Regions from separate parts of the Homo sapiens genome. Here all the other regions are linked to region 2. The links are contacts of gene promoters, found by promoter capture Hi-C in blood cells and fetal thymus (Javierre and others, 2016). All regions are on one chromosome and are shown on one strand. Each heading gives the region's core, a stretch centred on a gene start or on the middle of the fragment in contact. The rest is flanking DNA. Distances are from core to core; before and after follow the strand shown.

Region 1 (3,702 bases), core at 843-3,342, 200 kb after region 2:
TTGACATTTTGCTTGAACCATTGATGATCCTTCGTTTTGTTTTTCAGAATCAAGGAAGCTTTCCTTTTGAGATATTTGTAGCTTTTGACAGTTGTGAGGGTGAACCAACCAGTGATCTCTGACTGCAGCTCAGAAGAAACAAAAAGGATGGGCCGTCAAACTCCAATGGTCATGCAAATGGAGCCTCGGACAATGGCTCCCTTTTACTGGAGACCCTTATATAGGCCCCTGAGAGAAAACCTGACTGCCATTTTCCCAAAAACAATGCCCCCTGTCAGCATGAAGCAGTTAAGAATGGTCACTGTCCCTATCCTAACGGCAGTTAGATGTACCTCTACAGAGTGGTGATTGATGGCAGTGGTGGGCCATCTAGAGTGGCCGCTGCCATCACACAGGCTGCAGCAGGGAGGTACAGCCAGAGCTGTATACTCCATGCAGCTGGTGGGAGCCTCAGACAAGTGGGAGCCCTGCCCCTTCTGATTTGTTAGGGTGGGAGCTCCCCAGGTGCAGACACAAGTCTGCCCAAGTTATGGCTGCAAACTGGGCCTCCCAAAGCACAGAGCAAGAAGAAGCCCCACCCCCTGGGGCACAGGTTAAGCTGCCCAAGTCATGGCTGCAGACCCAGGCCTCCCTGTGCTCTTGGGGGTGCTGGGAGCAGGGAGGAGCCCTGTCCTCCTAGGCGTGGCTGCAGCCACCCAAGTCGTGACTGCAGAGCATGACCTCCCACTCCACAGAGCAGGACCCCCACCCCCTGGATGCAGCTGCAGACACCCAAACTGTGGCTGTGAACCCAGGCATCCCTGCACTCTTGGAGACCCAGGATGGTCCTCTCCCCCTGCCCTCACAGGCTTGGAAGTGCCTGCTCCTGCCGCCTGGCTTCTCCCTGCTGTCGGTACCCACTCCGATCTAAGAGCAAAGTCATGGTCAAGCCTGAGCTCTGTCACAGCCCAGCCAGGTGTGTACATGCTCAGGGAAGTGTTGACACACCAGCCCCCTGCCACTTCAGCCCGCCTCTGGACCTTGGGTGCCAAAGAGCACAGGAGGGAAGCTGAGGGGGTGATAAGGGCAGTTTGGCACTGGCCTGCAGGTGCCCCTTGGCACGTACAGCCTGGGTGCCATGAATGGCAGCAGGAGGCAGACAGGTTCCTGGGGGGAAGGGAGTGGGTCCCACGTGAGGCCCCACCTTCAGGCCAGGGAGGGCCTGAAGGCTGGGGGCCAGGCTGCTGCTCCCATAGACTGCAGTGGAAACTTGTGGTGTCTTTTCCAGGCCCATCCATGGCTGCCCATGGAACAATCAGTGCTCACCTCCTCCCCTCTGAGGCCCATAAAAGCCCTGGGTTCAGCCAGAGCTGAGCAGATGTTGGGATGACCTGCCTGCAGACAAAAGCTACTCTCTCTGCTGATACCTGAACACTTGTCAGGATGAATTGCCTAGCAGAGAGGAGCTACCCTCTCTGCTAGGAGCTGAACACTCATCAAGACACCCTGGCTGCAGAAAGTAGCTGCCCCCTGCAGGTTTCCTCTGAGCTGTTCTATCACTCAATAAAGCTCCCCTTCATCTTACTCACTCTCCTCTTTTCTGCCTACCTCATTCTTCCTGGTCACAGGACAAGAACTCAGGACCCACTGAATGGCAAGGATAAAAGAGCTGTAACACAAACAGGGCTGAGACATGCCCCTTGCTTGCCTCATTGTGGGCAAAGAGAAGAAAAGAAGAGCTGCAGCCCTTTGGGGAACCCAGACCTGGGAGTTCCCCAGACCAGGGCTGTGACTCCTATTTTGGGGCCCTGTGGTTCCTGGCATCTCCGAGCTTCTGGGTGCCAATGTGTCCTCCAGTGCCAGCCGTAGAAGCTGCTTGCAGTGTGCCTGGTCTAGCTGCAGCCTCACAGAGAGCCAGAGCCCATGCCAGCACCTGGAGCTGCCCGGCCCACTGCGGCAGCTGGTACGTCTGACTGTGCACAGTGGCCGGATCCCACACTCACTCACACACTCCTCACTGTTCCATGCCTGACTCACCCTTGGCAGGCATGGGTCCCAGGCCAGTAGGGTGAGCCAAACACAGCCTGCCAGGCTGAGTAGGTGAAACAAGCCCAGTGGGCCCGAGCAAAACTCGGGCACAGGGGCCACCAGCCACAGAGGTTCCTGGCTAGAAAAACAACACCCCAAAGATCCCATAATACAATGAGATACCATCTCACACCAGTCAGAATGACTATTATTAAAAAGTCAAAAAATACCAGATGCTGGCGAGGTTGCCAAGAAAAAGGAATGCTTATACACTGCTGGTTGGAATGTAAATTAGCTCAACCATCGTGGAAAACAGTAAGGCAATTCCTCAAAGAACTGAATTCAGAACTACCATTCAACCCAGCAATCTCATTACTGGGTATATACCCAGAGGAATATAAATCATTCCACCATAAAGACACATGCACATTAATGTTCACTGCAGCACTACTCACAATAGCAAAGACATGGATTCCACCTAAATACCCATCAATGGTGGACTGGATAAAGAAAATGTGGTACATATACACCATGAAATTCTATGCAGCTGTAAAAAAGAACGAGATGATGTCCTTTGCAGGAACATGAATGAAGCTGGAAGTCATTATCCCTAGCAAACTAACACAGGAACAGAAAACCAAATACTGCATGTTCTCACATATAAGTGGGAGCTAAATAATGAGAACACATGGGCACAAAGAGGGGAATAACAGACACTGGGGCCTGCTTGAGGGACGCAGGAGGGAGGAAGAAAGAGAATCAGGAAAAATAGCTATCAGGTACTATGCTTAGTGTACTTGGGTAACAAAATGGTCTGTACACCAAACACCCATGACATGCGTTTGCCTGTATTAACAAACCTGCACATGTACCCCAGCCTGAACTAAAATAAAAGTTAAAAGTAAGCTGGGCATGGTAGCTCATGCCTGTAATCCTAGCATTTTGGGAGGTCCAGGCAAGTTAATTGCTTGAGCCCAGGAATTTGGGGCCAGCCTAGGTAACATGGTGAAACCCCATCTCTACAAAAAATACAAAAAGTTGCCGGGTGTGGTGGTGTGTGCCTGTAGTTCCAACAACTTTGGGGGCTGAAGCAGGGGGATTGCTTGAACCTGGGAGGTCAAGGCTACAGTGAGCACTGAGCTGAGACTACACCACTGCACTCCAGTCTGGGTGACAAGATGAGACCCTGTCTCAAAAAAAAGAAAAGAAAAAAAGTTTAATTTTTAAAAAGTTAAAAATAAATAAATACATTTTAAAAATAATCTCTCCCTCACAAAGCATCAGAAAAACAGACTTTACACTTCACATAATTTTATATTTTCTGTGTTTGCTTCATTCAGCAAATATTTATTGAATAACTACTAGGTACAAGATCTTGTATCTAGGTTAAAATTTTATTGACACATTTATTCATTTCTTCCCAAGGACTAAGGTCTTTCGTAATGCCGATGCCCTCCAAACATTCTACACTTTACTTAGATCAGTTGGCAGGATTAAAAGGTCTTCCTGTTAATAATCAGCTTGAAAAAAATTCTTTAAAACAGTGTTTGGCCACAAGAAACTTCCCAGCAATATCCATTACCCTCAAAATTAGCGCAATCTGGTTCCACTTTGTATAATAAAATAATGTGTTGTTTTTCAATTGCTATTGACCCCAGGTTGCAAGTTATATAAACTGAGTGTGCCCAGGTGAAC
Region 2 (4,029 bases), core at 977-3,476:
ATGCCCCTGAATTGCACTGATAAAACATCAACACATAGATTTCCCAAGGCAGTGTAAGGACAGGGCCACAGAGCCAGAGGCCACTTCCTGCAGTCCTTTCATTCTAGTGAAAATTCTATCTTCCTACAGCCTGACTTGGGGCCACTTTGGAATGACAGCTGTATAGTGGGGGGCGGGGAAAGGAGGGAATACTCACCCTAGTATTACTTATGTCAGCTTTATAGCCAGAGGTCAAAGAATGCCCCCACCCCAGAGCCTAGACCCTTTTTCCAGTGAGTCATCTCTTTGACTTTTCAAAATTATCTATCTATAGGGCTTAAAACTGGGGACACTTTTGCAGAGTCTAGGGGCTTTCTCTGGGTCATGAAAGCTACAAGAGTTGGTTCTGCTCAGACTTGGTGGGAGTTAGGCTTATAGGCTGAGATGAGACAATTGCTTTGCAAGTAGGAACATTAAGTGCAGAAAGATTGCTCTCTAGTGGGACTGACAAAAATTGCAGTACTGGGGACTCCAGAAAAAAATGAAGACAAATGTTAAGTTAGATTCCTGTGTTTGTACTTGAAGAATGTGTGAAGGGATCCTGACCCTCCCTTTCCTGTTGTAAAACAGTTGATGCCTAAAGAGATCTGGTCCACAAGACCTTGACTAAATTCCTGGCCCTTTCTTCTCCATTTAACTTTGTATATGTTTGTTATTGTGACTATATGGTGATTTACTTTAAAAAGACTTCAGTATAAGTGGTATATACTTTCACCTGCGTCTTTTGGATGATTTGTTTTCATGTGAAGTTTATTGGGGTCAACCCTCCAGAGATGGCTGGGGCAGTTGGTTAGAAAGACTGTATAGGCCCAGGCCCTTGCAAGCCCAGCAGCCCTCTGTCTCCAGAGTCATGCTGGAGGTCTGGACCTGCTGGCTGTGTGATATTCCACTTTAGGGAGACTCAGTCACCTTGCACAACTGTGAGAGCTGGGCCTGCCACTGAAACATTGTGTCAACCTCTAAGTGACCCTTTCACTAGATGGTAAAGTGAGATGCCTCATCCCCAAACTATAAGAACAGTTCTATGGCTGTTTTTGTATCTCCTGGCTAACAAATGTTACATGTTTGGCAGCATTTGGTATAGTGCTTGCTTTCAGTATAGTCTGCCACCAGTTAATGAGGTTGTGGAAAGGAGGACACACAATCTCCCAAATTCATCAAGAGAATGGACAATTGCTGAATGGCCAAACTGGCTTAGATCTGTTGGCAACATTCAGTGTGTCCCTTCCTTTCCACTTATCCATCAAGGAATTACTGAATCCTACCATGCGCCTGTCCTGGGAGTTTGTCCTTGGCTGCAAGCTATTTTCAGGCAGTGACTGGGATGGGATGGGAGAGAGGATGAAACTGAAGGGTCTTGGAGCCTAAGAGCTTCCTCTGTACTGAGGGAGGGAGGGCGACATGACGAAGACTTCTAATGTCTTTGGTGGTGGTGGGTGGGGCAGGCAGTGTAGGTGGTTTTCGTTTGATGACAATTCTTGGGCAGAAGCATTTGAAAAGATGATTTGGGAGAAGGGTGGGGAGGAAGAGTGATCGAGTTCTACACAGAGTTGGGGAGGGCAGGCTTCAGGAAGCAGGCCTGGGGTGCCAAAGTACAGTGAGATCCGGTGACTTTCTTCATTTGGCCACCTAGATGGAAGGAGGGACAGCAGTGGATTATCAGAAGGGTCCAGTAGTAGCGGTCTAGCCCTCAAGTGCTCCTTCATTCATTCAAGCAGGCTTAATGTATTAAGCACTTATTGTGCCAGGAAGTGTGGTAAGGGTCAGTGTGGACCTGCGGCCGTGTGCAAAGCCACAGATCCCTGCCTTCAGGAAGCCCACAGCCTAGTGGAGGAGATATATAGTAATCAAACAATCTTACAACATTTTGTAAAATGCCCATAGTAGATGTTCTGAGGAGAAGCTTTTGGAACTGTGAGCGTAGAACAGGGGAGGTGAAGAGAGTTTGGATAGGGTTTTTCACTCTTCAGGCACCAAGTCCCGCGCACAGTGGATGGGCGCTTAGAAAAAGCCAGCCTGGGGACTTGGAAGCCCCTGCACCCCTCGCGCAGGTCCTGGACCCGGCCCCGCCGTGGGGGGGCGCTGCCTCCTCCCGGGCGGCGGGGGGCGCTGCGGCCGGGCGGCGGGGGGCGCTGCCTCCTCCGGGACGGCGGGGGGCGCTGCGGGCCGGGCGGCGGGGGCGGCCCGGGCCGTCGCGGCGAGCCGCGCGGCGGATGGAGAGTCTGGCCGCGGCCGGCGGCGCCGCCTCCTCGTCGGGCCGGGCACGGCGGGCCGGGGCCTTTGTGTGAAGCGGCGGCGGCGATGGTGCTCGGGGCGCCGCAGAGCCGGGTAAGCGCGGCCAGGCCGAGGGCTGCCCCTGGCCGAAGCCCGACCTTCGGCCCGGCATTTATCTCGCTCTTGCTGGGGTCCCTCTTGCCCGCTCCCTTCGGCCGGACCCATCCTCCCCGCCCGCGCGCCGACCCCGGCCGGCCCCGCCGCCCCTCGCTTGGCCCCTTATTCAGCCCCATGCCCCCAACAGGCTCACCCGGGTGAGCCCCGCGCTGTTTGTGGAGGGACTGAGGCGCTCGTTGCCTCCAGAGGGAGCGCCCCAGCCGATGCAGCGCCCTTCCCTCCCAGATGCGACTCCGGAGGGGAGACCGCGGCGCCCGGGGATTGTTGGGGTGTCCTTGGAAGTTCCCAGCTTCCCCCTCTCCCACCCTCTCCTCTGGCTGCCCAGTGCTCCGACCCGCCCATCGTTCAGGGGTGGCCACCAGGGCCCGGGAGATGCTTGGCCGGTACCCCACAATACTTAGACGCTTCCTGGGCCCCAGAAAAAGTTGGGAGTTGTTAGAATCTGGAGAGATGGAGAAAGGGGCTGTGTTGGGCAGAGTTGTGAGACTGAACAGGGATGCAAGTAGCTCTTCTTCCTTAGTCGTGCAGGAGTCAGAAAGGGCAGAAAGTGGTAGTGAACAAGCCTCTAGGAGTCTTACCTGTATAATTAGAAGTCTTTCTTGCGGCATCAAGTAAATCTGTTAGTGCAGGGACAACAAAATATAAACCCCGAAAAGGGTGGCGAAAAAGAATACAACATATTAAAGTAATATTAAATACTACCACAGTTGTGTTCTACTTTTCTTACTGTGCATTCTGAGTGTTTTAACTTCACAGAATACAGGGACTGTGATAAAGCAATATCTGGAGGGGCTCTGGGTTATCGAAAGGCCAGAGAGCGGGTATGTAGTATAGGCAGAGAGAGATGGGGATTCAAGAACGTGAGATTTATTTGGAGATTATTGAGAGGTTGAAGACACAGCAATGACAAAGCTAAAAAACGGAACCACCTTATATGTTCCTCAGTAGCTAGTGGAGCTTTGATAGTTGTGTTCAAGCATGTGCATGGTATTTGGCATCATGAGGGAAAAGAATATGCTCAATGAATTAGGAAAGCTTGTATTTGGGAGGAAATTAATAGGAGAAAAATTTGATCCAGTGGCTCTGGTAATGAAGTATAAGATTGTGTCCAAGGGAATGCCTCTGGTTCGTCTCTAGGCACCAGCTTAAAACCAAGCTATCAGATTGTCATCAGTCGTTTTGGTTTTTGTCATAACTCTTTGAGTATATACAGGGGGAGATGTCATTGCCTTGTCATAATGGAGGAACTCTCCATGCCAGTTTACTCCTGATCCCTACCTGGGGCTTGGAAGCATTCAGAGTGATGGTATTTTCTCCTGCATAGCCCCTCTTTTGCACGGATGTGTTTGGCCATCCATCTTTTTCTCTTGCTATCCACAGATTAACTGTGCTGATAAGGAGGTAATTTCATAGGAGCTGCTAAGATGGGCATGAGGATCAAACTGCAAAGCACCAACCACCCCAACAACCTGCTGAAGGAACTCAACAAGTGCCGGCTCTCAGAGACCATGTGCGACGTCACCATTGTGGTGGGGAGCCGCTCCTTCCCGGCCCACAAGGCTGTGCTGGCCTGTGCAGCTGGCTACTTCCAGAACCTCT
Region 3 (3,788 bases), core at 154-2,653, 180 kb before region 2:
ATCCTACTGTGAGCTCTACAGGGCCATCAGTGCTCCAGTGCTGACGCGGGGAGGGCTCAGGAGGAGGCTGGGTTGTTGGAGTCTCCACTTGCCCCTGCCCTCTCCACTGGGGTCCACACTGGCTCCTTCTGATTCCCCGAAAGTGCCTGCTCCTTGTGGCCAGGGGGAGGGCCCCTCCTGCCAGCTCAGCTCTTTCTCCTGGGCACTGGGACCATGCTCCCACCCAGCCACTCCTGCCATCCTCAGACGCTGGCTAACATGCCGCCTCTTCAAGGACACGTTCCCTGACTTCCAGGTGGGGCCAGTCCTCAGCACACAGCCACGAAGCTCTTCATGACGCCCCTCGCGCTCCCCACTGGGTCCTCTGCACCTTCTTTGCCCTCAAAAGCCACTCGCTGAATGCGTGATGGAATCCCCTGGCCTCATAAGAAAGGAGCTTGGTGGGCAGCCAGGGGGTCACGTCCTCTGGGACGAGGGCCAGGCAGCCTTGCTGGACCCTCCAGGGAAGCTCCAGACTCATGAGGGACAGGCTCTGAGGCCATCCCCAGACAGGTGAGGCAGCCGAGGGTCATGGAAGGGGGGACTGGACCTTCATCATCAGCTGCAGATGTGCCAGATGACAGAGGCAGGAGGAAACAGAGGGTCCTTGAGCCAGGTTGGAGGTGACTGACATTGGGGGACTGGTGGGGGGAATCTGGGTTCGGGACACTCACGTATCTATACAGCTGCTTTGGGTTGTGTTTACTAGTTTCCTAGTAAAGCTTTTGAAAAACATTCCAAGCACTGCTGAATTGGGAAAAAAATGTTGCTAACATGTGGGCCTGGATCCCTAAGGCGAGGGGGTGGCTCACTAGAGGCCCAAACAGCCGGGATGAGGGCTGCCCCTGCGGGAGAACAGAGCAGGCTGACTGCGGGTGAACCCTCCAGGGGGAGCACCCACCCCCGGGTGCTTTCTGCCACCTGTCCTGGCTTGTGCTCCTAACTCCTCCGCACCCTGACCTCACTTCCTGGCTGGGCTCAGGCCTGCCTATGCTCTATGGCATGCAGAGGTCCCCCTCTGTCCTCCCTGCCTTGAATTTGCCTTTCTTCAGGCTTTTGCTCAAAGCACTTCCCCTGTCCGAGCTGGCCTTCCTTGTCTTTTCCAGTTCCAGGCTCTGGGCCAATCTACTGCCTTCATGACACCTGTGGTCACCCGTATACAGCCCTGTGCCAGTTACCATTACTTCCCACAAGTATGACTTCTCAACCCAGCTAGGTGGCTTGGTAGGCCCAGCCTTAGGCTTCTGTACGAAGGGTTCGACAAACATTCTTTGCCTGAAGCTTTGGATCCCAGAGCTAGAGGCCCTACCCTGTGCCTCCAACATGGTGCTCTGATGAATGAATCAATCACAAAGGCAGAGCGTCCCCCACAGTCCTGATGCTCCCTTTGGTGCAGGCAGCTGGAATCTTAGCCAGCTTGTATCACAGAAGAGGAACCTGAAGCTTAGGAAGCTTTTGCACCTCTCCCCAGATCACACAGCAGGGAAGGGTGGAGCTCAAGTGAGGGCCTGCCTCTCCTGCACCCCCGCTTGGATCTGCCTGGGGAGTTTCTGCCACCCCGAGTCCCACCTCTCCCTGCTACCCCCATCCCCAGGCAGCAGCTCACTTCTGGCACTCGTCCAAAACGAAGGCCCGTGGGTGGTCATCTCCAGACATAGTGATGACGGTCTCACGCTCGAAGGCCCCTGGGCGGGTCTGGTCCACTGTGTGGCGCGTGATGGTGGATGTCGTGTAGCTTGTCCAATAGAGAGTGTCCCAGCCACGGTGATAGGCCAGGCCTTCCACGGAGCCCACGTCTGTGAAGAGACAGGAGCAGCGATTTGTCAGGAGGGCCCAGAGGGCAGCCTGCACAGGAGCCGTGGGGGACAGCCTGGGGCAGGTGCTCTCCTGGCTGGAAGGCGAAGTGTGGGGTATGGGAGTGCAAGAGGTGCAGCAGAGAGGGCTCGGGGGCACCAGGGTCTGACTCAGTGCCCCCAACCTCTGCTGTCCTCACTCAAATGACCTGTGGTCACCTCTCAACCCTCTCCCACTGAGGGCAATCGGGCTTTCTGGTGTGTTTGCACTTTCCTGGAGCTGCAGTTCTGCTGAGCTGAGTGCAATGTAGATTTCTGTAAATCAAATCCTGCTTGGGCTGTACTGGGGAGCCCCCTACTTAAAAAGACCCTGAGCTGGATTGATTATTTTATAAAGCAGACATCTTAAACTCAGGTTAAAGAACCAAGGCACAGTGAGAGACACAGCCGAACAGCAGTGTAAGAGAAAAGACTAGAGTGTTAGTGGCTATAAGCGATGGTGGCTGCCAAAGGGCCATGCTGTGGTATGGTCTGCAGACAGCCGGAGGTGAGGGGACATCCCTTCCAGGGGTCTGGGGATTGATGTGCCAGTCTCTCCTGATCAAGCTACGAGCATGGAGTACCGAGTTTAGCTTCGGATGCTACATTTTTAGACAGACATGCAGGCTGGACTATGTGCAGCAGAAAATGTCCCAGAAAAGGCTGAAAGGACAGGTCTGTATACGTAGCACCTAGTTCGGTGCCTGGCAGGTCTTTATGGACCAGCTGAATGAATATATGAGCAAATGAATGAGTCAAGGGACCCGGTGGTAACCAGGCTGAAGAAGAGAAAATGTAGCAGGATGCAGTTTTCAAAGAGCTGAAAGGCTGTCCTGTGATGACAGCCCTGACACTGTAACTGCTCTTTCCAGAGCACACACTCCGTCCCCAGCATCACTGAGCTAAGCCTTCCTGCGCAGCAGCTCGAGGAATCCTGTCTCAGATGAGACACTCATCCACGCAGATGAGAAGGCTCAGGCTTGGCAAGAGCAGGAAACTGACCCAAGTTATTGAAAGCCCAAGTGACTGGAGCTCAGCCCCATGTCTGCAGCCTGGGTTTGTGAGCGTTGGGCTCCACAGAGACCTCTCGCTTGTTCTGTGCAGCTCTGAAGGCAGAACTAGGACCAGTGGCGGGAGGAAGTCGGGGGCTGACGCTGACTCCAAATCAGGAGTCATGTAACTGCGGGGGTGCAGTTGGATTCAGCTGAGTTGTAGCTGCTGGGATTCAGACCTAGGGTAGAGTGCCTGGCTGGGGTCTAAGAGTCTGTGCTGCTCCCCGCCCCATGTCCCACTTCCTGGGAAGACTTAGGGTCTGGGCTCACTTTCCACAATGGTGATCCTCCTGGAGCCATCGTCGTTGATCTGTTGGATGTTCCCAAAGTGGATGTCGCTGAAGAAGATGCGATTGGGGGTGCCCGGAGAGGTGCCTGCCCGGTAGTCAAAGGCCAGGGCGATGACGTTCTTCATGTGCTCAGGGTCCTCGAAGGGCTGCACGGGCGCATTGAGGTTGCGCTCATCCGACAGGTGGATACTCTTGAGAATGGTGCGCTCTGAGTAGAGCAGGTAGCCGGCATACTCGCGGCACGATGCTCCGTCTTCAGCCAGCATCCCGTGGGCACAGGCGCAGGCCCGCTGCCCACGGCCCCGGTACAGGCACAGCTGCTGGCACCCGCCATTGGCCACCGCGCACACGTTGGTGCCTGGGGGAGGGGAGGGTACAGAGGGCAGGGCCTGCCTTGGGAAAGGCTCACTGGTGCCTTTGTCATCCAGGCTTTGGCGAAAGCTCTGCCCTCTGCCTCGGTATTCCCAGCTTGAATGACCCTCCAGGGCCCAGAGTCCAATGCCAAGATCTGTCCCAGAGCACCTCAGCCTTTCCTCCCCATCCCTGGGTCTCTCGGGCCATCGGAAGTTGCCCCA
Region 4 (3,947 bases), core at 1,022-3,521, 140 kb after region 2:
ACATGAGAATAGCTTGAACCCAGGAGGCAGAGGTTGAGGTGAGCTGAAATTGTGCCACTGCACTCCAGCCTGGGTGATAGAGTGAGACTCTGTCTCAAAAGAAAAATTGATAACTTCCTGGGTTTTCTTTGAAAATTAGGGTTTCTAAGAGTTGACATTATAACTAATGTGTGTGATTAAACTACTAGAGATGAAAAAGACCATTCCATATGTAAGCATATGAGAAGTATATGATGTATTTTTGGTAAGGAAGGTTGAAAAGGAAGAGGATTATTTTGTATAAGAAAGAATGTTGTATGGCAAATTTTTCTCCTAGAGTAAAATGATTGGTTATTTAAGAAAGAGAAAGTGTAAGAAAAAGCAGAATGTCCAAGCATATCATAAATGGTCTGAGTAAGTCATGATAAGGTTTATAAAAATAGCATTTATAGAGGAAATTTTCTGTGTCATCACTTTGTCTACAATTGGAGGGAAATTATTTATGGGTCTTACTAGGGATTGAACTTTGATGTGAAAAACACACTGATGCAGATTTTGTCCCGTGTGTTAGAATAGCAAGGTTTCTTTAGAATGTTGATTTGCTCTTAGTAAAATTATAGGAGGTTTTGATTAATTCTGAAATGTGTTTCTTTGACAGCCATCCTCTCAATTACAAACAGTTTCTATTTCTGCCACATTTCTCCCTGGAATCTATCTAACTTCTTTCTCTAGTTTCAGGTTGGAAATACAGCTCTACTTCTTTCTATCCTAAAAAGATATGGTTTTTGCTTGGTTGGGATGATAACATTCTCCTTCAACCTTTTTGTTGACTCCTGTAACATTTTTCTGGTTCTGCCAGTTCACTTTTCATCAGGTTTAACTTTCAGGTTATCTAAATGAACTTACCAAAAGAAAAAGCAATCACATTGCAAGAGATTTTCTTTTCTTTGCCTTGTGGGCAATTGGCCTAGGAAACAAAGATTCTGTTTTACCAAGATAATTTCCTGTGCTTCAAGTTATCTTTATTAGGTTTTTTATTACTTAGGAAAACTGAGCTTTAAAAGGGTTAAGGTTTTTACATTCATGTAACTTTTTCTATTGTTTTTGACATCTTTTGATTGTCAGTCTGGTTAAATGAATAACTATCATCTTGCAGCGAACTTTGATTCTATTGAATCAGATACTTTGAACTTTAAAGCTTGTGACATCTTTGGAAGGTTTCCTGGGATCAAAGCCCTAAATTAAATCTTTTAGATATTATTAGGAAGCATTGTCAAATAAAAATTATTTTTAACTTTCTTTAAGTTGCATGTGTAAATGTGTTATTAAAATGTGTTTCAAAATTTCATGTGATAAAATTCTGAGATATAGTGATATGTGTTGTCAATCAGCTATAGTCCAAAATTGCTTTTCATGGAACTGCTGATCAGTGTCAAGCAAGGTAAAATTGATTACATGAAATTAAGTAATTGATAAGGATAATGTTTTATGACTTTTATTTAGAGCATTCTTGGTCTTACATGTTTTGTTTTTCAGATTCAAGGAAATTTACTTCATAATTTTTTATAGTTTGTAATAATTTGGTAAAATATCCTTTCGTTAACAAAAGTGGAAGCATTTGCTTTTTCTCCCTACTTGAGATCTCCAAAATTTAGAAACTATTTTTGAGTATTCTTATTTTATTTACATGCTCTCTATAAGCAGGATACAAGTGGAATTCTCAGTTATAATATCAAGGTTTTGACTGAAATGTCATATTTAAGAATGTACATAAAATGCCTGGCTTCAAGAGTTCCCAGGCTTACCGTAAGTGAGTCAAAATTGCTACTTCCAGGCATGCCCAAGGACACTAAGATTGTAAGTGAAATCTAAAGTTTGCCTTCATTTGGCTTCCTAAACTCAAAAGGTTTTAAATTTAAGATTCCTATAAAATCAGTGTAAAAAGAAAAACTTATGTTTCCAAAGAAAAACTATATAACTGTTACTATATTGTAGATCTGTACATTGTTTTCAGATCCTTGTTATTTACCTGTAGACTGGACTACACCCTGAATTCTCCTAATTTCCTGATGCCTCTGCCAAACTCCAACAAGGAACACTCTTAGACAATTAACAGGTGCTTACCTGACTTTCTACCTTGCCTGGCCCAGGCTGTTCAAATTGGCTATGAGCTCTTAGTCACAGAAGTCCCACCAAGGGACTAGACAGACCCAGAGCAGGTAGCCACATCACTTCAACAATAATATGGGACAAAGACATAACACTGGTAGTCAATGCTGCCTATGGCAGGTTTCAACCAAAGGGAGTGAAATGTCAAAGTATGCCCCTGGCCAACAGACTAAATGAATTCCCCATGGCTAACTGAGGTGCTCAAAGTTACAGGAAGTATGGCTGAGAAGGCCTCAGGAAACTTACAATCATGGCAGAATGCAAAGGACAAGTAGGCACATCTTACATGCAGGAGCAGGAAGAAAAGAGTGAAGGGGGAGGTGCTATACACCTTTAAACCACCAGATCTCATGGGAACTCACTCACTATCATGAGAACAGCAAGGGGGAAATCTGCCCCCATGATCCAATCACCTCTCATTAGGCCCCCTCCTCCAACATTATGAATTACAATTCTATGTAAGATTGGGCAGGAACACAGATTCAAATTGTATCATTCTGCACTTGGCCCCTCCCAAATCTCAGGCTCTTCTCACATTACAAAATACAATCATCACTTCTCAAGAGTCCCCCAAAATCTTAACATATTTCAGCATTAACTCAAGAGTCCACAGTCCAAAGCCTCATCTGAGGCAAGGCAAGTCCCTTCCACCTGTGAGCCTGTAAAATCAAAGACAAGTTAGTTACTTCCAAGATACAATGGGGCTACAGACATTGAATAAATACACCCATTCCAAAAGAGATAAATCACCAAAACAAAGGGGCTACAGGTCCCATGCAAGTCCAAAATCCAGTAGGGCAGTCATTAAATCTTGAAGCCCCAAAATAATCTCCTTTGGCTCCATGTCTCACATGTAGGCTACACTGATGCAAGGGGTGGGCTCCCAAAGCCTTGGGCAGCACTGCTCCTCTGGCTTGCAGGGCTCAGCTCCCATGGCTGCTCTCAAGGGCTGGCATTGAGTGCCTGCAGCTTTTTCAGGTACATGGTACAAGCTGCCAATGGATCTACGATTCTGGTGTCTGGAGGATAGTGGCCCTCTTCTCACAGCTCCACTATGCAGTACCCCAGTGGGAACTCTATGTGGGGGCTCCAACCTCATATTTCCCCTCCACACTGTCCTAGTAGAGGTTCTCCATGAGGGCTCCATCCCTGCATCAGAATTCTGCCTGGACATCCAGGTGTTTCCATAAATTCTCTGAAATCTAGGTGGAAGCTTCCAAGACTCAACTTTTTCCCTCTGCGCACCCACAGGCTTAGCACCACAAAGAAACTGCCAAGTCTTAAAGGCTTGCACCCTCTGAAGCAGTGGCCTGAGATATATCTGGAGCCCTTTTAACCATAGCTGGAGCTGGAGCAGCTGGGGTGCAGGGAGCACTGTTCCAAGGTTGTGCAGGGCAGCAGGGCCCTTGGCCTGGCCCAAGAAACAATTTTTCCATTCTAGGCCTCTGGACCTGTGATGGGAGGGGCTGCTCTGAAGGTCTCTGTCATGGTTTCAAGGCATTTTCCCAATTGTCTTGGTTACTAACATTTGGCTCCTCTTAAGCCAATTTCTGTAGCTGACTTGAATTCCTTCCCTGAAAATGGGGTTTTCTTTTCTACCACATGGCCAGGCTGCAAATTTTCCAAACTTTTATGCTCTGCTTCCCTTTTAAATATAAGTTCCAGTTCCAGTTTTATGTCATTTCTTTGCTCATGAATATAAGCATAGGCTGCTAGAAGCAGCCAGGCCACATCTTGAATGCTTTGTTGCATAGAAATTTCTTCCACCAGATGGCCTCAATCATCACTCCCAAGCTCAA
Region 5 (3,974 bases), core at 1,123-3,622, 220 kb after region 2:
TCAAGTACCCAGGGACACAAACACTGCAGAAGGCCGCAGGGTCCTCTGCCTAGGAAAACCAGAGACCTTTGTTCACTTGTTTATCTGCTGACCTTCCCTCCACTATTGTCCTATGACCCTGCCAAATCCCCATCTGCGAGAAACACCCAAGAATGATCAATTAGAAAAAAAAAAAAAAAAGAAAGCAGTGAGAGGGAAATCTCCAGGGACAGGAGGGTTGGGGGGTTGAAATAGACTGAATAAGTCTATAATCTATTTAATTATTTAGAGAACACTACTGGTAGTGACAGATCTGAGAGAACAACCAAAAAAAGGTTAAGGTAAATAAAAACCTTTGCAAGCAAAAAAGCAAGGCAATAATTAACTCCAAGAAAAACAAAAAATGTTACTATAAAAGAAAAATACTTGATTAAATAGTTAATAATATTCACATACTTAATTATATAAACACTATTCATTTAACCAGAAATGTGATAAAATTATATTCAAACTATAAGGATAAAGGAAATGGGCAGGAAAGTGATGTAAAAAAAAGCCAAATTTGCACCATAACAGAAAGTCAATTGAGAATAGCTAAAATTAATAAAAAATAACAGTATATCATTTAGAAGTTCAGAGATAAATACCAGAAGAAATAGCTAAAAGTTGAGACCATTTGCCTCTGACGAGCAGCAATGAAGGATGAGGATAAGGGCAAGGATTGCCATTTTTCATTTTAAGCTTTTGAATATTAATTGAATTTTTAGCTATATATGTATAACATTATTTTGATTTAAAATTTAAAAAGTAATTTCTTTTTAAAAAAGGAAGAAATATATTGGGGAAAAAAGACTGCTGACAAAAAGAGAAGAGAAAGAAAAATCAAATATTTATTAAAAGTACCATAATACAGACCCATTTCAAGTAAGGACAAACACACCAACATATTTCTTAGTAGTTTCCTCACAATAGATTATTAAAGCATAGAACAATTATTCATATTCATAAAGAAATGACTTCAAAATAGGTTAAATTGTTTTCCATCTACTCTGTTTAATAAGGCAAGAACAAATGATTCACTTTAGACAAATAGTCTCATCAAAAAAGGGCTAAAATAGTAAAGATTCATCACCTAAAGTGGTAAGCTTTGGATATCTGAAATATAAACATGTTAGTACTCTGATGATGCCAGATAAATGAATTTAGGCAAGAAAACACATTGTTACAAAAAGCCTGGGTTCTAAATCAGGATTACTGAGACACTAACAATTTCAGATTTTTGCCTTCATTCCAAGAAGCACCAACCCAGTTTTCTTTAGACTGCCTGGGCTGGTTTGGGCCAAGATCTAGTCAAAATGTAGTCTGCCAGTGATGTAGGTAAATAAGATAGAGGGATGAAGAAAAATTTAGCATCCCAGCCAGCTGAATATCGAGTTCGCGGATGCACCGATGTCAGAGCATGTTCCATGCAGTCAGTGACCAGGTTCAGGTTTGTGCTACAATTCAACAGCCCTTCCTTCATGATATTGTAAACTGTATACAAAAAAAGAAATGGTGGTCAACAATCTTATTCCTTATATTTTTAAGATCATGCAGTCACAGAAGTCTCACCACATCTAATTTCTACAAAATAGAATGATCTAGAATGTGCATCCCAATATGATAGCCACTAGCCACATGTAGCTATTGAGCACTTAAACAATAGCTAATGCACTGGAATAAAAACTAAATTTTGGATTTTATTTAATTTTAATTTTAAAACTCAATCATTTTTCTTTTTTTGTTTGGTTGTTTTTTGGGGTTTCTTTTGAGACAGGGTCTTGCTCTGTCACCCAGGTTGGAGTGTAGTGGTACAATCTCAGCTCACTGCAACCTCTGCCTCCCAGGCTCGTGATCCTCCCTCCTCAGCTTCCCACATAGCTGGGACTACAGGTTCGCATCCCCATGCCCAGCTAATTTTGTTTATTTTTTGTAGACACAAGGTCTCACTATGTTGCCCAGGCTGGTCTTGAATTCCTGGGCTCAAGCGATCCTCCCACATCAGCCTCCCAAAGTGCTGGAATTATAGGTGTGAGGCACCACGCCTGGCCTCAAAACTCAATTCTGATGGCTGGGTGCAGTGGCTCATGCCTGTAATCCCAGCACTTTGGGAGGCCGAGGTGGGTGGATAATTTGGGGTCAGGAGTTCGAGACCGGCATGGCCAACATGGTGAAACCCCATGTCTACTAAAAATACAAAAATTAGCCAGGCTTGGTGGTGCATGCCTGTAGTCCCAGTTACTCAGGAAGCTGAGACAAGAGAATTGCTTGAACCCGGGAGGCAGAGGTTGCAGTGAGCCAAGATCACGCCACTGCACTCCAGCCTGGGTGACAGAGCGAGACTCTGTCTCAAAAAAAAAAAAAAAAAACACACAACTTAATTCTGTTACTAGAGGATTTTTAAATAGGTTTAGAACAACACAGATATGGGAATATACTTTTTCAACTGGAAATTTTTTTAACATTATTGAGATATTCATATATCATAAAATTCAGCCATTTAAAGTGTACAAATCAATAATTTTTAGTATATTCAGAGTTGTGCAATCATCATCACAATCTACATTTAGAACATTTTCATCATCCCAAAAAGAAACCCTGTACCTATTAGAAGTCATTCCCATTTTTCACCGCTGCTGCTACCTCCTCCTCCAGGTCTTCAGAATAATATTCTTATAGGAAATTGACAAATCCCACTCCCACAAAGCTCCTATCACCTGAACAAGAGAAATATAGCCTCAGGGAATGGCCCATAGGGCTCTGCAAAGACTTATCCTCACTGACTTACCTCTTCCCACCTACATGCTTTCTCCTGTCACATTAAGACACATAGTTTGTGGACAAGCCCTTTGTTATCAAAAGGTAAACAATGATGAAGACTGCACTTTAGTTGAGCAGACATCTCACACCAGCCCTGCAATGCTACCAAGGGGCACACCCTCTCAAGGGTCCATGCCTCTAAGTATGTAATACCTCCTAGTGCTCAGGTGCCCTGGCCCACAGAGGACAAGGCAGGGAAGAGCCTGGCCCCAGGCCGCCTATATGTCCCCCTCCTCAACCATGATAGTCATCAGACCAAGCCAACCATGAGACCACTGGGACCTTCCTGACTTCCTTCTGTTCTGGGAATGCTTTATTTAAGGAGCTTTGTCCTGAGAGGATCTGCCAATCATTGTCCACCAACCCTCTTTTCCCCTTCTCATGCAAGGGTACTGATATGGTTTGGCTTTGTGTCCCCACCCAACTCATCTTGAATTATAGTCCCATAATCTCCACATGTCGTGGGAGGGACCTGGTGGGAGGTACTGAATCATGGGGGTGGTTCCCATATGCTGTTCTTTTAGTAGTGAGTTCTCACAAGATCTGATGGTTTCATAAGGGGCTTTCCTCTGCTTGCACTCATTCCCTCTCCTGCCATCCTGTGAAGAGGTGCCTTCTGCCATGATTATAAGTTTCCTGAGGACTCCCCAGCCATGCAGAACTGTGAGTCAATTAAACCTCTTTTCTTTATAAATTACCCAGTCTCAGTTATTTCTTCATAGCAGCATGAGAATGGACTAATACAGGGTACCCATTATCCCTATCAAAAGAAAAAAGCTTACGGGCATCAAAATACTGCTGTCCATAGGTCTCCTTAATATGCTTGGGGGCTTCTTTCCAACTTTGCTTCATTCGCTCTAAGGACTGTGTCATGTTTGTCATTCCCGTTCTGAAGTAGCCAGGTTCAACTATGCTGATTTTCACCCCAAAATGTTGAATCTCACGCCTGAAATAAAACCCCACAAGTTATGATTAAAGACCACCACCATTTCAATGCTTTCAGGAAGGAAAAGCAAAACAAAAAAGATTATAAAATACCTTTACTGAATATTTTAAAGAATAAAGAAATCTCCCTCTCCCTCTCCCTCTCCCTCGTCTCCCTCTCCCCACGGTCTCCCTCTCCCTCTCTTTCCATG
Region 6 (3,804 bases), core at 1,072-3,571, 160 kb before region 2:
ACCCTGGACCCAGCTGATGCTCTCATCTCATGCCGGGACTTTCAGCAGCAGTCTCTGAACTGATTTTCCTTTCTTGGGGCCCCTGAACCTCTTCTCAATCTAATCTTCCTCTAGGGCTGTGTTCCGAAATCACCTCCTACATCACAGCACCTTCCGGCTTGGAAATCCTTCAAAGGTTCCCAGTGCCTCCCAAATCAAGCCTCTCACGATTTACACCTGCTGTCATCATCTGCCCCCTTTGAGGACAGCCTCATTCCCCACTGTCCCTGCACGAGCCTTTCCCTCGGTCTGAACGGCTCCACCTGGCCCCACTGTCACCCTACGGAAGTGCTCAGTTTCACCCTCTAAGTCTTGACGACAGCATTCTCCGGACCATGCCATCCCCACTGGAAGACCCTCCCTCCTGTCCATTTACCTGCAGTCTAAACACAACTCCTCCTGAATGGTCCCAGACCATCCAGCTCATACCATAGTTAACAACTGCTACCAATAGTGACACCCTGCTCCTCCACGCCAGGCCTCACATACCTCAGCTCATTTCATAAAGGAGGATGCCCAGGCTCAGGGGAAGCAACTTGTCCAAATTTGCCCAGCTTATCTGGGAGCGGCAGGGAGCTCTTCTCACCACACCACACAGCCTCCAGAGGCCCCTTCTCAGAACCCTAAGGGATATCACCTGTGCCCCTCACCCTCCCCTTCACAGAGATAGCCCTGGAGACGCAATTACTATTTCCCAAGCTTCCTGTGGCCTTCTCTGTCCTCCCTCTCAGGGCAGGGCTCAAGGTGGGCACTCAACGCTGTCCAGTCTTCTCCTACTAGGGTGGGAATGTGCCCTAACTCTATAAGGCAGAGGCTGTAATCTAGTGGTCCATGGGTCAGATGAGGCCTGCAGGAAGAGTTTGGTCTGTAGTTTTTTTTAAACTTTTTTTTTCTTTTGAGACAAGGTCTTATTCTGTCACCCAGGCTGGAGTGCAGTGGCGAGCTCACAGCTCACTGCAGCCTCAACCTCCTGGGCTCAACCTCTCACCTCAGCCTTCTGAGTAGCTGGGACTACAGGCATGTGCCTCCATGCCCAGCTAATTTTGTTTATTTTTTGTAGAGAAAGGGGTCTCACTATGTTGCCCAGGCTGGTCTTAAACTCCTGGAAACAAGTGATCCTCCTGCCTTGCCTCCCAAAGTGATAGGATTACAGGTGTGAGTCAACACACCCAGCCTTTTTTTTTTTTCTTTTCTTTTTTCAAGATGGGTTCTCCCTATGTTAACCAGGTTGGTCTTGAACCCCTGGCCTCAAGTGATCCTCCCACTTCACCCTCCCAGAGTGCTGGGATTATAGGCATGAGCCACCATGCCTGGCCTGCACCCAGCCTTTTAAAACTTCTAAAATCAACTGCCAGTTGGTATGGCTTGAATTGTGTTCCCTAAAAAGATATTAGTCCTATCCCATAATACCTGTGAATATGACTTTATTTGGAAATAGTGTCTTTGCAGATGGTCAACTTAAGATGAGGTCATAAGGGTGTATCCTAATCCAATATGACAGGTGTCCTCACAGAAAGGGGAAATGGGGATCTGGTGACAGACATGCCCACAGGGAGGACACCGTGTGAAGATGAAGGCAGAGATCGGGTCAAGCTTCGACAAGCCAAGGAGCTGCAAAGATTGCCAGCAAACCGCGGAGGCTGGGGAGAGGCCTGGGACAGAATCTCCCACACGGCCTCAGAAGGAACCCACCCTGCCAACAGTTGGGTCTGGGACTTCCAGCCTCCAGAACTGTGAGACGAGAGAAACTAATACTGTAGTGTTAAAAATTTGGTAGTTTTCACATAAAAATCTGCACATCTTCCAGAGCTAGGAAGCCAGCATTCCTTGAGAGGGCCCATCCCTCCAGAAAACTAGGTCCCCACCGCCCCCGAGGCTGGGCCCCAGAGGCCAGGGCACTGGGAGCCTTGTGGAGCCAGGCCCTCTCTCCTCTGTCTCTTCAGGCTCATTCATCCCTGCCTGCAGCATCCTTTTCTCAAGCTACTATTTACCAAACACAGGCCGTGTGCTGAGCACTTTTCGTGCGTGATCTCACTAAACTCCCACATCAGCGCTGTGATGTTGGTGCTATTATTACCCCACTTTGCAGACGAAACTCACAGAGGCCCATGGAGATTAAGTAACTTGCTCAAGGCCACCCAGATAATAAGCTGCAGAGCTGGAGCTCAAACCCAAGGCCACCAACTGCAAAGCGCATGATATTAACAGCGTGTGGCAATGATTTTTCGGCAACCTCCCTCTCCCACAGGACCGGGAGCTCCTGAAGGACAAGAGCCATGCCTAGGCTACCTCTGGCTCCCAGATGGTGGCCGACACACCGTGGGTCTGAAAGACAGATGGATAGGCTGGGTGTCTGATGCAGGGGGCTCGATCTCATCCCCACCCCACGGGCCCCTGGTGCCCACCCTGGTTGGTGCAGTTGGCGTGTGTCTCATCACTGTAGTCTCCGCAGTCATTGTCCCCATCGCAGGTCCAGTGCTCGGGGATGCAACGCCCGCTGTTGCACTTGAACTGGGTGCTAGAACAGGAGTGGCTGCAGCCGGCTTCGTCACTGTTGTCCCCACAGTCATTGTCTGGCGGTGGGGGAAGAAGGGGAGAGGCAAAGCGGGAGTTGGTGGAGCAGCCTTCTCTGTGATCCCAGCTTGGGCCCCCTGCCCAGAACCCACCCTCAGCCCACCCTAACCCCCCCACTGGGAAAATAACAAACAGAAAAGACACAGAAACTGCATAGACTGCAGCATGCACCATGGCCCACGTGGTCAGGATGAGGAGGAGGAGAAGGCTCCTGGAGGGCCCCTCACTGAAGCTCAGAAAGGCTGGGTGCAGGGAACATTAAACATTTCATTTCCCCTTTCTGGCAGGTGTGGGAACAGGGGTCTGCTTGCTTTTGGGGGAAAGGCAGGGGTTTCTCTAGTTTTGGAGGGAGAGAGGTAGGTGGGGTGCAGGCGTGGCCGGCTTGAGACAAGCTTTACAGGCCTGCCCTGAGGCTGGCACTGCTGAATACCATGCTCTGGGTGCCTGGCTTACAGGGGCCCTGCCTGTGGCTGGCAAGAGTGGGGGCCACTTCTGGACCAAGCTCGCTGAGGCTGGCTGAAGGAAGCTCCTGCTTTCTCAGCATTGGGTGGGGGCTGCTTGACTTGACCCTCTGTATTTATGGGACATGTGGTGGAGACTGGGGTTTGGGTTATGTTCCTGCCTCTTTTCCAACTGGATTTGCTTCTCTAACTCTCTCCTCCCCTTGCATCTTGGGCTTTTTGTCACCACCTCTCTGTCATCTCCTTTCCTCAGAGGCTCCCTCTGCCGTCTCTGCTTCTTTCCTGACCACTATTTGCTTTCTCCCTCTGTTTTCTGCTCTCCCTCCTCTCTGTTGCTTTTTCTTCATATCCTAGCAGCTCTGGAGTAGGGGCCTGGAGAACCTGCAGGGGGCTGGGGCCAGCTGAGCTCTGGGTGATGGTGCATGTGCTTCTATGCACTGACCGGCAGGCTCAGGACAGGTCTGTTCGTCAGAGCCGTCCCCACAATCCTTCTCTGAAACACAGAAACCGCCGGGGCAACCATTGGCATGCGAGACACAGAAAAAGTGAGGGGCAACGTGGCACTGACCCAACACATCCGCTCACACATCAGCTGGGACAGGAACCACTGGGGCAGCACGTCACAACACAACACAGACAGAACAGAGCCCTGAGACACCACACACGGCAGTCACCTGCCCGCACATTTACACACATACTAGCCCTGGTGGCTCAAGGCTGACATCACCTG

Evidence for each region. The method cuts DNA at HindIII sites, captures the fragments that hold promoters and counts their contacts. A CHiCAGO score of 5 or more calls a contact.
Region 1: a fragment that was not itself captured here is called in contact with the fragment with the promoter of ZBTB39 in region 2 in 6 of 17 cell types (M2 macrophages, M1 macrophages, M0 macrophages and 3 more); the score reaches 18.3 in M2 macrophages.
Region 3: a fragment that was not itself captured here is called in contact with the fragment with the promoter of ZBTB39 in region 2 in 6 of 17 cell types (erythroblasts, activated CD4 T cells, endothelial precursors and 3 more); the score reaches 7.5 in erythroblasts.
Region 4: a contact is called between a fragment that was not itself captured here and the fragment with the promoter of ZBTB39 in region 2, in 2 of 17 cell types (M2 macrophages and M0 macrophages). The highest score is 6.6, in M2 macrophages.
Region 5: a fragment that was not itself captured here is called in contact with the fragment with the promoter of ZBTB39 in region 2 in 5 of 17 cell types (M0 macrophages, M2 macrophages, M1 macrophages and 2 more); the score reaches 9.0 in M0 macrophages.
Region 6: a contact is called between a fragment that was not itself captured here and the fragment with the promoter of ZBTB39 in region 2, in 1 of 17 cell types (erythroblasts). The highest score is 5.7, in erythroblasts.

The regions. Positions count from the first base shown.
Region 1 is chr12:56,802,186-56,805,887 of GRCh38, reverse strand. No RefSeq gene overlaps it. Among named protein-coding and RNA genes, the nearest start is that of HSD17B6, 41 kb to the right of the region's middle. RefSeq lists an enhancer at 569-1,218. The HindIII fragment of the contact is 4,063 bases long and covers 61-3,702 here.
Region 2 is chr12:57,004,743-57,008,771 of GRCh38, reverse strand. ZBTB39 (zinc finger and BTB domain containing 39) reads left to right here and starts at 2,226. Exons shown (of 2, transcript NM_014830.3): 1 at 2,226-2,367; 2 at 3,811-4,029. The coding sequence starts at 3,855. RefSeq lists silencers at 2,028-2,387, 2,408-2,557. The HindIII fragment of the contact is 1,523 bases long and covers 1,945-3,467 here.
Region 3 is chr12:57,185,314-57,189,101 of GRCh38, reverse strand. It overlaps LRP1 (LDL receptor related protein 1), which reads right to left. Exons shown (of 89, transcript NM_002332.3): 41 at 3,194-3,571; 42 at 1,646-1,835. Among named protein-coding and RNA genes, the nearest start is that of MIR1228, 7.3 kb to the left of the region's middle. The HindIII fragment of the contact is 162 bases long and covers 1,323-1,484 here.
Region 4 is chr12:56,863,874-56,867,820 of GRCh38, reverse strand. No RefSeq gene overlaps it. Among named protein-coding and RNA genes, the nearest start is that of SDR9C7, 69 kb to the left of the region's middle. The HindIII fragment of the contact is 2,184 bases long and covers 1,180-3,363 here.
Region 5 is chr12:56,784,663-56,788,636 of GRCh38, reverse strand. HSD17B6 (hydroxysteroid 17-beta dehydrogenase 6) reads right to left here. Exons shown (of 5, transcript NM_003725.4): 4 at 3,621-3,784; 5 at 847-1,512. The coding sequence ends at 1,295. Among named protein-coding and RNA genes, the nearest start is that of HSD17B6, 23 kb to the right of the region's middle. The HindIII fragment of the contact is 2,491 bases long and covers 1,127-3,617 here.
Region 6 is chr12:57,167,948-57,171,751 of GRCh38, reverse strand. It overlaps LRP1 (LDL receptor related protein 1), which reads right to left. Exons shown (of 89, transcript NM_002332.3): 20 at 2,445-2,612. Among named protein-coding and RNA genes, the nearest start is that of LRP1-AS, 22 kb to the right of the region's middle. The HindIII fragment of the contact is 1,373 bases long and covers 1,635-3,007 here.